Linked DNA regions of Homo sapiens: all the other regions are linked to region 1. Evidence: promoter capture Hi-C in 16 types of primary human blood cells and fetal thymus (Javierre and others, 2016). All regions are on one chromosome and are shown on one strand. Each heading gives the region's core, a stretch centred on a gene start or on the middle of the fragment in contact. The rest is flanking DNA. Distances are from core to core; before and after follow the strand shown. Region 1 holds the start of RBM18 (RNA binding motif protein 18). Region 2 has its middle 7.8 kb from the start of PDCL. Region 3 overlaps RC3H2 (ring finger and CCCH-type domains 2). Region 4 overlaps ZBTB6 (zinc finger and BTB domain containing 6). Region 5 overlaps PDCL (phosducin like).

Evidence for each region. The method cuts DNA at HindIII sites, captures the fragments that hold promoters and counts their contacts. A CHiCAGO score of 5 or more calls a contact.
Region 2: a contact is called between a fragment that was not itself captured here and the fragment with the promoter of RBM18 in region 1, in 8 of 17 cell types (activated CD4 T cells, naive CD4 T cells, M1 macrophages and 5 more). The highest score is 8.8, in activated CD4 T cells.
Region 3: a contact is called between a fragment that was not itself captured here and the fragment with the promoter of RBM18 in region 1, in 6 of 17 cell types (activated CD4 T cells, total CD4 T cells, naive CD8 T cells and 3 more). The highest score is 7.3, in activated CD4 T cells.
Region 4: a fragment that was not itself captured here is called in contact with the fragment with the promoter of RBM18 in region 1 in 1 of 17 cell types (monocytes); the score reaches 5.4 in monocytes.
Region 5: a contact is called between a fragment that was not itself captured here and the fragment with the promoter of RBM18 in region 1, in 13 of 17 cell types (endothelial precursors, naive CD4 T cells, naive CD8 T cells and 10 more). The highest score is 12.3, in endothelial precursors.

The regions. Positions count from the first base shown.
Region 1 is chr9:122,263,558-122,266,257 of GRCh38, forward strand. RBM18 (RNA binding motif protein 18) reads right to left here and starts at 1,283. Exons shown (of 6, transcript NM_033117.4): 1 at 1,158-1,283. MRRF (mitochondrial ribosome recycling factor) reads left to right here and starts at 1,325. Exons shown (of 7, transcript NM_138777.5): 1 at 1,325-1,381. RefSeq lists enhancers at 465-1,436, 815-2,014, 1,437-2,407, 1,583-1,742. The HindIII fragment of the contact is 1,671 bases long and covers 375-2,045 here.
Region 2 is chr9:122,835,001-122,837,700 of GRCh38, forward strand. It overlaps the pseudogene KRT18P67. Among named protein-coding and RNA genes, the nearest start is that of PDCL, 7.8 kb to the left of the region's middle. The HindIII fragment of the contact is 806 bases long and covers 895-1,700 here.
Region 3 is chr9:122,851,334-122,854,033 of GRCh38, forward strand. It overlaps RC3H2 (ring finger and CCCH-type domains 2), which reads right to left. Exons shown (of 21, transcript NM_001100588.3): 18 at 2,619-2,700; 19 at 1-103. Among named protein-coding and RNA genes, the nearest start is that of PDCL, 24 kb to the left of the region's middle. RefSeq lists an enhancer at 29-804. The HindIII fragment of the contact is 6,549 bases long and covers 1-2,700 here.
Region 4 is chr9:122,907,590-122,910,289 of GRCh38, forward strand. It overlaps ZBTB6 (zinc finger and BTB domain containing 6), which reads right to left. Exons shown (of 2, transcript NM_006626.6): 2 at 467-2,700. Among named protein-coding and RNA genes, the nearest start is that of RC3H2, 3.6 kb to the left of the region's middle. The HindIII fragment of the contact is 5,725 bases long and covers 1-2,700 here.
Region 5 is chr9:122,817,205-122,819,904 of GRCh38, forward strand. PDCL (phosducin like) reads right to left here. Exons shown (of 4, transcript NM_005388.5): 4 at 893-2,700. Among named protein-coding and RNA genes, the nearest start is that of PDCL, 10 kb to the right of the region's middle. The HindIII fragment of the contact is 3,417 bases long and covers 1-2,700 here.

The DNA.
Region 1 (2,700 bases), core at 33-2,532:
CTTGTATTTGGAAGGGGAGCAGGACAAAACAAAAGCAAAATAAATAAAGAAGATATAATTAGTGATACATGCCACAAACACAATTAAGCAGGGTGATGTGACAGGGACTCGACGACTATAGATTGAGTGGAGGGAAGGCCTCTCTAAAGGAGATGACATTTGGGACTTGAATGATAGGACATTCTGATTTTCTCATGTCTAAAATCAGGAATAATACCAATAGCTATTAATATTTATTACCACGAAAAGGTACCATGTTTTACTGGTAAGAGTGCAGGCTATGCGGGTCTGGGTTCAAATCCTGACTTTTGCACCTAGTAACTGCACCTTTAGCAAGTCACATGACCTTTCTTTAAGCATCCTCTCGATAGAAAAGCTTTCCTAAACAGAGTTCCTTGTTATTCTATATCATAGCCACTTTTCCATCTTTTTCCTCCTACTAAATGCTAATTCAATGTATTACTTAATGTTTCCTCTTCTATTTCCTTCACTAGAACGTAAGCTCCCACAGCACAGGACCTTGCCAATCTTGATCACGGTTCTATTTCTAGCACTTAAGTACACTGCCTGTCTCACGGTTGGTGCTTAATATTTACTAAATGAAGCAAGCCGCTTCTCCACTCGAAGACTTAGTTTCTTTTTCCTTCCTAGAATGGGTACAATTTGTCGTCTCACGAGGTCGTTGTGAGTCTTAAATAAGACAATTTTGGTGACAGCTCAGAATATGGCTTTTTGAGGAAAGGTAAAGGGTAATAAAAGATCAAGACGGCACGGGACTATCAAAATGCTTTGCGTTTGCAATAGCAACAATCCTTTAGACTACCAGAGTTCACAAAACGCGGTTACATTTGTCTTTCCAGCTGAGCTGCAATAACTCTGGAAGCCAGAAATAGTCATCTGGGGAAAGTGCAATCCAGAGAAGAAGAGACACCTGATCCTAACAGCAAGCGGTGGGGTCATGCCTGGAACCCTGGCTTCCCGATTTCTGGCTGCGAATTCCTACAGGCGAAGGGTCATTACTCGGATTGTTATTTCCGGGCCAGCGACAGGACAATCCGGGGCGGGGCCTGAGATGCAGTCCTGCGAGGGCGGCCTCCTGTAAGACCTCTTAGCGGGCCCATCGCTGAGGTGCAGGGACATGTCGCGGCCGAACTCACCTCGTGGCCTCGGCGTGGTGCTCTCAGCTCATGCCCGGAAACCAGGTCCCGACGCCGCGGTCAGACGGACCTCTAGACGCGTCCGCCTCAATGCCGCCAGCTGCCAGGCCGCCCGTGACGCGTTAAGCCTGCGCCGCCTCCTGGCTTCGTGACGTCACGACGTCCGCGCAGCTGCGGTCGCCGCCGTCGCACGAGTCTTTCCTTAGTAACCTGGGCGATAGCTGGTGAGTGTCCTTGACAGGGCCTCGAGGGGCGCGTGTGGTCTGGGTGCCAGAGACCCTTACTCAGGGACCTCTGGGGGACCTCAGGGGACCAGACTACCGTCCCCGACCCGTTCGAGTCCAGCTTGACCTTTAAGGCTGAGGGCGGGACCTGTGGCATTGGAGCGAGTCTCATGGGGTGGGGGCGGGGCTCCTTTTACCAGCTAGGAATTTAGGGGATGCTGGAGGAACTTACTAAAGAGTAGCCGCACACTTGACGGGAACGTTTGAGTTTCAGAACAATCCCATAGGAGTAGATATTATTATCTCCCATAATGAAGAAACGGAAGCTCACATAGGTAATTTTACCAGGGTCACGCGGTCAGAAAGTGAGGGCGCTTAAATTCAGACCTAGGGCTATCCGACTCCTAAGCCTGGACTTTTAACCACCACTCTGTGCCACCCAGTGGCAAAACAGTTGTCATTTCAGTAGCCCTTCTCCATTTACTTAACCCTGACAAATAGTATTGTCATTTACGTTTTACAGATGAGACGGAAGTCCTGAGAGTTTGACCGATTTAAGGTCACGTGCCTAGGAAGTGCTGGAACCAAGACTCGGAGTTTTCTCTAAGTTTAGTGCCTTTATTTTGTTTTAAACCACACTGTTGCATTTCCCCCCATTTTGGAAAGCTTTATAGTTGGAAAGAATGAAAACCTGATCTGACCCCTTCATTTTATGGTTGAAACAAAATCTACGTAGGAGAAATCACTTGGTACAAGTCACAAGTCAGTGGTAGAGCTGCCGCAAATGCTTTTTGAATACGTGTGATTATGAATCTAAATGGCAGATGGCAGGGAGTGATAAGGTAGGCATACTGGAATCCAGATCTCTTAACTCTTAGGCAAAAGCCCTTTCTCTACCTGTTAAAGTGTCTCATTCCTTCTTTGGCCGTGCCAGGTGCATAATGATTCTGTGTATAGTCAGATACTACAAGTACCTTTCTTTACCTGGTACTGCATTTAGAGAAGAACATCATCTACTATCTCTAAGCAAAAATCTGGCAAACCAGAGACAGTGGAGGCAACGCTGGGAAGCCCAGAACCTACCATAATAGTAAGGGTAGATTCCCATCCGATTCTGGTTTACCCTGGATAAGGAATTTATCTTTCTGGACTTTCACTGATGTATTCATCACATTCACAGTGTCTTCTGTGTTCTGGCAATGTACCAGGTACTGGGGATACAGCAGTGAACAAGAAAATCATAGATTAGTCCTTGTAGTACTTAGAGTCATATGGAGGGAATTAGACAATCAAATAATTACACAAATGTTAGCTTGTAT
Region 2 (2,700 bases), core at 48-2,547, 570 kb after region 1:
TTTCTTTTTTTGTAATGTACTGTGTGGTTATGTTTATCTAATAAAACTAGTTGTAAGTTCCCTCTTCCACTTTCTGAAGTAGCTTCTGTAAAATTGGCATTATTTCTCCTTAAATATTTATTAATAATAGAATAAACCTGTGAAGCGATCTGGGCCTGGAGTTTTCTTTGTGGGAAGGTTTTTCATAATTAATTCAATTTCTTTGGTAGTTATAGGGCTATGGCAGGCAGCTTCTAAAATCGCTCCTAGGCTAATGATCAATTTATTGCCCCTCTGCTCCCAATTCGCCCTTGAATATATGCTCTTCAATAATGGATAGAATTCAGTGAAGCATTTCTCCTTTGCAGTGAGCACAGTGATGAGCTTTCTCAGTAGAGGGCACTGGAGGGGCATTGCAGGAGGAGGGGCTCTCCTACTGTTTCCCACAGTTTCGTGGTAGGTCAGTGATGTGGATGTAATGACATCCAGGGGAGCTCTTTCCCAGCCATGTGTCCAGCACATATGGTCCCTTGGTGACATTGCAACCTCAGTCTAGACCAGCAACAATTTTCCTGTGGCCCTCTCAATGCGAAAATTAGCTTTCTGAAGGCTTCCTTCCTGTCGCCTACCAGTTTCCTGTCCCCCACCAGCCAACTCTCTCTGCAGGCTCCTGTGTACCTCTCCTGCTGCCTGGAGAGTAGCTTTCTGTCTGCCAGTGACTAGTTCCAGCCTGGGCCAACTAGCGGACCTCTGGGCTGAACTATACCTTCTCCGAGGTGTGACCCTCAGCCTTGAGAAGTGGACCCCTTTCCAAGTTTGTGTTTCCTTAGGTACTCTCCCTAACCTATAGAGTACTATGTGGAATTTACTTTTAGCTGGTAGTCATTTATTAGCATTTAATGATTCTTTATATTAAGCTTTACCCCATATAACGTACTGTGTAGTTTCTACCTCCTGATTGGACACAGACTGATACTACTCCCAAAGTTCCCCGCCTCTTGGTATTCATGCCCTGTGTAATCCCTTTCCCTTGCTTCTAAGGATTAGAATACCACAAAAGTAATGGGATGTTGCTTCCAAAATTTGGTTATAAAAGACTGTGACGTCTTTTTAGCACACACTCTCTCTCTCTCACTCTCTGTTGCCTGTATTGCTTGCTGCTTGGATGAGCCACTCTACCATATTGTGAGCTGCACTACAGAGAAGCTCATGTGGCCAGAAACTAACAGTAGCTGTATTAGTCCTTTCTTGTGATGCTATAAAGAAATAACTGAGATGGCCGGGCGCGGTGGCTCACGCCTGTAATCCCAGCACTTTGGGAGGCCGAGGGGGGTGGATCACGAGGTCAGGAGATTGAGGCCATCCTGGCCAACATGGTGAAACCCCGTCTCTACTAAAAATACAAAAATTAGCTGGGCATGGTGGTGGGCGCCTATAGTCCCAGCTACTCAGGAGGCTAACGCGTAAGAATCGCTTGAACCCGGGAGGCGGAGGTTGCAGTGAGCCAAGATAACGCCACTGTACTCCAGCCTGGCAACAGAGCAAGACTGTCTCAAAAAAAAGAAAAACAAAAAACAAAAAAAAAAAAACCTGAGACTGGTATTTCTACATAAAGAAATACCGATACTGATAAAGAAAAGAGGTTTAATTTGGCTCACAGTTCCGCAGGTTGTACAGGCATGGCACCAATAGCTGCTTAGCTCCTGGTGAGGGCCTGAGGAAGCTTACAATCATGACAGAAAGCAAAGAGGCGCCAGCATATCACGTGGTGAGAGCAGAAGCAAGGTGGGGGTAGGGGAGGTGTCACCCTCTTTTAAACAACCAGATCTAGCATGAACTGAGCAAGAACTCATCACCAAGGGGATGGCACTAAGCCATTTATGAGGGATCCATCCCCATGATCCAATACGTCCCACTAGGCCCCACGTCCAACACGAGGTCACATTTCAACATGAGATTTGGAGGGGACAAATATCCAAATCATATCATTCCTCCCCTGGCACCCATCCCCCACATCTCATGTCCTCCTCACGTTGCAAAATACAATAATCCCTTCTCGTTAATCCCCCAAAGTCTTAACTCATTCCAACATCAAATCAAAAGTCCTAAGTCTTCTCTGAGACTCACTTTCTTTCACCTATGAACCTGTAAAATCAAAACCAGTTATTTACTTCCAATAAACAACGGTAGTACAGGCATTGGGTAAACATTCCCATTCCAAAAGGGAGAAACTGACCGAAATAAAGGGGCTACAGGCCCTATGCAAGTCTGAAACTCAGCAGGGCAGATATTAAATCTTACAATTCCAAAATAATCCTTGAGACTGGGCAACATCGTGAAACCTGTCTCTACAGAAAATTAAAAAAACAAAATTAGCCAGGCATGGTGGTGTGCACCTGTAGTCCCAGCTACTCAGGAGGCTGAGGTGGGAGAATCACTTTAGCCCCAGAGGTCAAGGCTGCAGTGAGCCATGATTGCGCCACTGCTCTGGGCAACAGAGTGAGACCCTGTCTAAAACACACATACGGTCAGCAAAGCCTGACTCCTGTCCTCTCTCTCTCCTCTCCAGACAGCATGAGCTTCACCACTCGCTCCACCTTCTCCACCAACTACCAGTCCCTGGGCTCCGTCCAGCCGCCCAGCTACGGTGCCTGGCCGGTCAGGAGAGAGGCCAGCTGGTGGCGGGAGCTCTGGTTTCTGGATCTCCATGTCCCGCTTCAC
Region 3 (2,700 bases), core at 58-2,557, 590 kb after region 1:
CACTTTGTCCATCAGGTTCATCAGTATCAAGTGCTGAAAGCTCTAACTCGATATCCCTATCAGGTTTAGTATCTGTTGCATCTTCTGTATAATCACTCTGTAACTAAGAAAAATACTGATTTTGCTCTCCCTCTCCCTCTCCCTCTCCCCATGGTCTCCCTCTCCCCATGGTCTCCCTCTCCCTCTCTTTCCATGGTCTCCCTCTCATGCCGAGCCGAAGCTGGACTATACTGCTGCCATCTCGGCTCACTGCAACCTCCCTGCCTGATTCTCCTGCCTCAGCCTGCAGAGTGCCTGCAATTGCAGGCGCGCGCCGCCACGCCTGACTGGTTTTCGTATTTTTTTGGTGGAGACGGGGTTTCGCTGTGATGGCCGGGCTGGTCTCCAGCTCCTAACCACGAGTGATCTGCCAGCCTCGGCCTCCCGAGGTGCCGGGATTGCAGACGGAGTCTGGTTCACTCAGTGCTCAATGGCGCCCAGGCTGGAGTGCAGTGGCGTGATCTCGGCTCGCTACAACCTCCACCTCCCAGCCGCCTGCCTTGGCCTCCCAAAAAGCCGAGATTGCAGCCTCTGCCCGGCCGCCACCCCGTCTGGGAAGTGAGGAGCGTCTCTGCCTGGCCGCCCATCGTCTGGGATGTGAGGAGCCCCTCTGCCTGGCTGCCCAGTCTGGAAAGTGAGGACCGTCTCTGCCCGGCCGCCATCCCATCTGGGAAGTGAGGAGCGCCTCTTCCCGGCCGCCATCACATCTAGGAAGTGAGGAGCGTCTCTGCCCGGCCGCCCGTCGTCTGGGATGTGGGGAGCGCCTCTGCCCCGCCGCCCTGTCTGGGATGTGAGGAATGCCTCTGCCCGGCCGCCACCCCGTCTGGGAGGTGAGGAGCGTCTCTGCCCGGCCGCCCCGTCTGAGAAGTGAGGAGACCCTCCGCCCGGCAGCCGCCCCGTATGAGAAGTGAGGAGCCTCTCCGCCCGGCAGCCGCCCCGTCTGAGAAGTGAGGAGCCTCTCTGCCTGGCAGCCACCCCGTCTGGGAAGTGAGGAGCGTCTCCGCCCGGCAGCCGCCCCGTCCGGGAGGGAGGTGGGGGGGTCAGCCCCCCGCCTGGCCAGCCGCCCCGTCCGGGAGGTGAGGGGCGCCTCTGCCCGGCCGCCCCTACTGGGAAGTGAGGAGCCCCTCTGCCTAGCCAGCCGCCCCGTCCGGGAGGGAGGTGGGGGGGTCAGCCCCCCGCCCGGCCAGCCGCCCCGTCCGGGAGGGAGGTGTGGGGGTCAGCCCCCGGCCCGGCCAGCCGCCCTGACCGGGAGGGAGGTGGAGGGGTCAGCTCCCAACCCGGCCAGCCGCCCTGTCCGGGAGGTGAGGGGCGCCTCTGCCCTGCCGCCCCTACTGGGAAGTGAGGAGCCCCTCTGCCCGGCCAGCCGCCCCGTCCGGGAGGGAGGTGGGGGGGTCAGCCCCCCGCCTGGCCAGCCGCCCCATCCGGGAGGTGAGGGGCGCCTCTGCCCGGCCGCCCCTACTGGGAAGTGAGGAGCCCCTCTGCCCAGCCACCACCCCGTCTGGGAGGTGTGCCCAACAGCTCATTGAGAACGGGCCATGATGACAATGGCGGTTTTGTGGAATAGAAAGGGGGGAAAGGTGGGGAAAAGATTGAGAAATCGGATGGTAGCCGTGTCTGTGTAGAAAGAAGTAGACATGGGAGACTTTTCATTTTGTTCTGTACTAAGAAAAATTCTTCTGCCTTGGGATCCTGTTGATCTGTGACCTTACCTCCAACCCTGTGCTCTCTGAAACATGTGCTGTGTCCACTCAGAGTTAAATGGCTTAAGGGCGGTGCAAGATGTGCTTTGTTAAACAGATGCTTGAAGGCAGCATGCTCATTAAGAGTCATCACCACTCCCTAATCTCAAGTACCCAGGGACACAAACGCTGCGGAAGGCCGCAGGGTCCTCTGCCTAGGAAAACCAGAGACCTTTGTTCACTTGTTTATCTGCTGACCTTCCCTCCACTATTGTCCTATGACCCTGCCAAATCCCCCTCTGTGAGAAACACCCAAGAATGATCAATAAAAAAAAAAAAAAAAAAAGAAAAATACTGATTTTATACCTGTGGAACCTGGGGTTTCCCTTTTAAATTAAAGTAAAAAATCCCAATGATCAGCCAGGCACGGGGGCTCACACCTGTAATCCTAGCACTTTGGGAAGGTGAGGCGAGCAGATCACTTGAGGTCAGGAGTTCAAGACCAGCTTAGCCAACATGGTGAAACCCTGTCTCTACTAAAAACACAAAAATTAGCTGGGCATGGTGGTGGGTGCCTGTAATCCCAGCTACTCGGGAAGCTGAGGCAGGAGAATCGCTTGAACCTGAGAGCCAGAGGCTGCAGTGAGCCAAGATCGTGCCATTGCACTCCAGGCGATAGAGCAAGATTCCATCTCAAAAAAACAAAAATCCCGATGATCTAGTTAAAGAATTATTTAAGAAATCTGGGATTACAATTTTATTTCTGTTATAAGTTTTAAAAGCAATCAATCATCCATCAGAGATAGGCACACCAAAATGCACTCAGTAATGGTATAACCAAGATGCAGCAGCAGAAAACAAATACATTAAGCATGAAGCCGAAAGGTTCAGTTTCTTTACCTCTCCATTTCTTAGTTCAATTTCCTTGCTTAAAAGGTTTAAGGTAAGGTGACGGCCTTCATCCAGGGAATTCCACTTCTGT
Region 4 (2,700 bases), core at 5-2,504, 640 kb after region 1:
GATTACAGGCAAGCGCTACCATGCCCGGCTAATTTTTGTATTTTTAGTGAAGGGTTTTCATCAGGTTGGCCAGGCTTGTCTCAAACTCCTGACCTCAAGTGATCTGCCAGCCTCGGCCTCCCTAAGTGTTAGGATTACAGGCCTGAGCCTCGGCGCCCGGCGCTGACCACCATATTTAAAATTGCAATTCCATCCCCCTTCTCTGGTACTCCCTATTCCTGATTTTTCTCCAAATTCCTTCTCAAAATTTGACATACATGGATTTTACTTACTTGTTTACTGTTTGTCTCCCTTCACTAAGATGTTTCACAAGAGCAGGAATTTTTGTCTGTATACCTAACTTATATTTCATTGTAAGGACTCAGGAAGTATTTGCTAGATGAATGATTAATGTATAGTCAGGAGAAATTGTATCCTTTAAATTGTATCCTTTAAAATTCAAAGATGAAGACAAAACACATTGTTCTCCATTCCCACCTCCAGTTTATTATTTCTTATGTAAACATGTAAGATAGTTACATCCCAGGAAAAAGGGCAAGTGTTTTTCTCTGACAACGAAGTAACAACTACCTTTTCAAGATCTTTTATATGTAAATGGAGTAAATGAAGAGGCTGAACTCAAACACTTTTCATTTTTCTGTCATATCAGAAACATAAACTAAATGTGAATATGTTAAATGAATAAATTCTATACTTTGTCATACCTGAACTTTAAAAAAAGATTCCATTTTCCTGAAAATTTTTAGACATATCATGCAAACAGACACTCTCCTAGGAATGTTTGGAGATCATTCCGTGCTACTGAACAGGAATAAATAATATAAATAATAACCATCACTTTCACAAAACACCCCTCCCCCAGCAAAAATCTCAAAGTGCTCACAAAAAATTTTACAACAATCTTACAAGGCACACATAAAACTTAAACATAGTTTCAACCAATTTTTTTTCAAATATCCAAGATAGTAGATACTAATTCTTAAAAAATCAGAGTACTATTCTTTTACCCTCTCCTCCCATCTCCATCCTTCCCCCTTCCCCCCACGCCATTTTATAATAGGAAGCAAAAATAAGAAAAGTACTTCAATCACTAGTAAACTATTTCTGAAAAGAAAATATTTTCACACCAACAAATGGCCAATCTTAGGTCAAATGGAAGCAATGAACTATGAATGAAAAATTAGCAATGAGCTATCACACTTTCCAGTGGAAAAAGATCCACTAATTAGAAAAATTATGTCTCCAATGGAGTACTTAAGTAACAAAGTTCATAAAGACACAAAACCGTCCTCTCTTGCTTTCCCCTCTTCTGTTCTCAGGAAGAATTAAATACAAAATCATGGAATTTTAGACCTGGAAATGATCTTTCAAATGACCAAGATCAAAGTTATTTTACATATAAAGTTAAAAAGTTCAAGGAGAAATTCAGCACAATGTCGCTAACTAGTAACATTGGGTTATGAAGTCGGTTTTTTCATCAAACGAGACCTGCATTCTTGAAAGTCTCAAGGAAAGTTAAAATTCAGTGGAGAATGTCTTTCCCACAAAATTGTCAAAAAAAGGTTAACACTTATAACAACGAACATGTGATTCATTCATCACACAATTTTTATAAATGGTACAAAGTATATTACATTTTAAAATACAGAAGGGCTTCAATAGAAATTAAATACAGTAGAAATTCTACATAAAGCTAAGTTAACTAGAGGAGGACTAGAACAGCTTCAAAGAAAGATGCATCTAGTCAGTCTTCTTTACGAAAAGCAGTTCCTGTGTTTTAGAGAATATTATTTGCCCTGCAGTATATTTTAATCTTTGTTAAAATAATTTATAAAAGTTTTGTGTTATATGTAGACGGAGATGTTAGAGAACTATGGCTCAGAACACCATCTCAAATATGACTCTCGCTAAAATAATCATACAGTCATAGTTTTCCTTTTGGCATATTTTTGGAAATATAAAACTCTAGGGATGGTTAAGATTTTTATCAACACATAGTGAATGGAAATTACATTAATGTAAATGAAAAAATACAACACTAATAGCTACACCTTTTTAAATTGCTCATCTAGTAACAGCTAGAATATATATTGCCAATTCAAAATTTAAAATGACATGGATGAACCTCAAAGTCATTATGCTGGGTGAAAAAGCATTTCAAGAGGGAACGTACTATAAGATTCTGTTTATATGACAGTCCAGAAAAGGCAAAATAATAGTGACGGAGAACTGTTGCCAGGATTAGAGCTAGAAGGAGCTGACTACAAAGGGACAGCATAAGAGAGCTATTGGGAGTGAAGGAACTGTTCTGTACCGACTGCAGTAGTGGTGCACAAATCTTTCTGTTAAAATTCACAGAACTATACACCAAGAAGAAATTTCAATTTTACTTCATGTTAAATAAAAAATAAAATAGAGAGGAACTTTTAAAACAGTAGAACAGATATCCCTGGTAAAGGTAGAATTTCTCATTTTTCACAGCTTCATGCCAATGGTATAATTTTACTGGCCACAAAATTATTAAATCCGATTGTATTAAATAAAATCAAGAAACTCGGGCCCAATGAACCATTTCTTAAGTATGTATACTAATAAGGCATGGAAATAAAAGTATTTTAAGGATTATTAACCCTGTATAAAAAAATTCTGCTATTCCCAAGTGAATCTGAATTGTTACTTTATACATTTTAAAATGAAAAG
Region 5 (2,700 bases), core at 30-2,529, 550 kb after region 1:
GTGATCACCTGAGGTCAGGAGTTCGAGACCAGCCTGGCTAACATGGTGAAACCCCATCTCTACTAAAAATACAAAAATTAGCCAGGCATGGTGGCAGGCACCTGTAATCCCAGCTACTCAGGAGGCTGAGGCAGGAGAATCGTTTGAATCCAGGAGGCGGAGGTTGCAGTAACCTGAGATTGTGCCACTGTACTCCAGCCTGGGCAACAGAGTGAGACACCATCTCCAAAAAAAAAAGTCTAGGATTTCTCCATTACCATTACATGTCTACTCTTTTTTTTAATTTTTTTTTTTTTTTTTTTTTTTGAGACAGGGTCTCTGTCGCCCAGGTTGGAGTGCAATCATGGTTCACTGCAGCCTTGACCTCCCAGGCTCAAGAGATCCTCCTGACTAAGCCTCCCAAGTAGCTGGGACTAGAGGTACAACACCGTGCCCAGCTAATTTTTTCTATTTTTTGTAGAGATGAGGCCTCACTATGTCTGCCTCAGCCTCCCAAAGTGCTGGAATTACAGGCATGAACCACCACACCCAGCCCTACTGTATTTTAGAACTTCTGTTCTTGAAAAGCAAAGTCAAGTTCCCTGTAAGTGCATAATATATTCTCATTTTCAATGAGAACAGAAGATGGTTTGTAAAAGCTATTTTTAAGTGTCCCTATTTGCCCAGTAATTCCTCTTCTAGAAATCTATGAGAATAATTCAAAATATAGCCCAAAACACAAAGGCATTAAGTGTTCAGCAAAACACTGAGAATCTAAATAACCAATATAAAGAGATTGGTTAGGCCGTGCAGCGTGCTCACGCCTGTAATCCCGGCACTTTAGGAGGCCGAGGCGGGCAGATTACCTGAGGTCAGGAGCTTGAGACCAGTCTGGCCAACATGGTGAAACCCCGTCTCTAGTAAAAATACAAAAATTAGCCAGGCGTGATGGCATGTGCCTGTAGTCCCAGCTACTCAGGAGGCTGAGGCAGGAGAACTGCTTGAACCCAGGAGGTGGAGGTTGCAGTGAGCCGAGATCACGCTATTGTACTCCAGCCTGGGTGACAGAGCGAGACTCCATCTCAAAGAAAACAAACAAAATAAATAAATAAAAATAAAGAGACTGGTTAAATAAATTATTATATATCCAAATGATGAAATATTATGAAGCCACTGAAAATTATTTATTTAGAATGTTTGAAACATCAAAGTATTTATGATACAACACTAAATAAGGAAGAGCACAGAACTAAATTCAGTAAGTACTCAATGTTTATAAAAATATTGAAAAAAGACTGAAAGGAAATAAGCTAGACTAACAATACTTCCCTGCTTCTAATAATTTTCAATACATTCCACCCTTTCTACTACAACGAGCTTTCTTAGTCAAAAAAAAAAAAAATGCACTCTGTTTGTTGACTAAATACTTTCAAGACTCTTTTACAGTTAGTCAATTCCTGAAAAGCCAGGAAAATCAAAATTGTGAATTTTAAGGCTAATATTTAATTCCAGATTACATTTCCCCTGACCCTAGAATATACATTTTTAAAGTTAAAAAAAGGAAAAAAACGCAAATGATAATTATTATAAATACATAGAAAAAAAGGCTATAAAAATGACTAGAAATATGACAAAAGGGATTAATTTTGGTTGGTGGAATTATATGGCTTTTAAGTCTTAACAGTGTTTATTACATTTTCTACAATGAACATCTATCACTTTTGTAATTTAAAAAAAGTATTTGCTATCTTTCTTTTTAAGAGACAACCATCAAGCAAATTATATCACATCTATACGATGGAATATTAATAGACATTTTTAAAAAGTTGTAGAATATTTAATAATATAAAAAAAGGTCTGATATATTATTAGCTGACCATACTATAGAACAGTATGTTCAGAATGATCCCATCGTTTTGTTTAAAAACAAACAAAATATCCATGTATACACAGAAAACACCTTGGCAGGAAACAGACCAAAATATTAATAGTGTTTTATTCTAGGTAGTAGGATTAGAGATTATTTTAATTTTCTTATTTTTGCTTCTGTTTTGGTCAGTTTTCCTCTACTGAATATGAATTACTTTTCCAATATGAAAAAAAAAAAAAGTTTTAAAAAAAATCTAGGTTAAACAAAAAGTTACCTTGTTAAACAAAAAGTTACCTTGTTAAACAAAAAAGAGACAAAGACAAGCAGGGGCATCTTACTGAAAGAACTTCCTTTACAAAGATTTCCAGCCCCACTCCAGCTCTAATGTTTAAATCCATAAACTACTTGTCTTCTAACATCACCAGGTCAGTAAGCATCAACCCTTCCTGCTGTTCCAGACTTAGTCATGCTGGAGGAAGACATGAAATCCAGCAGCAGAGGCCACCCCTCAGGACTGGGTGCGGTGGCTCACCCCTTTAAACAAGACCCTGGTGGGGAAAAAAAAAATCTAACCACCGTCTAAAGCTATGGAACTGATTACAAGTAAATATAATTTACAATCATTTGATTAAGAAAATGCACTATTTACGTTGCAAATAACACAATACCTACAGAATTATACTCTCAGACTTGGCAGAGACCTCTAAGATCATCTGAAGACAATTTCCAAGACCCTGTCTTTAGGATGCTTTGTAAATATTGACTGGAAACAATAACAGAGATGTCACACCACAGAATCTTAAGTAAACAGTTCAAAAGCCTGGCTTCCTGTTTATACAACTGTAAGTCAC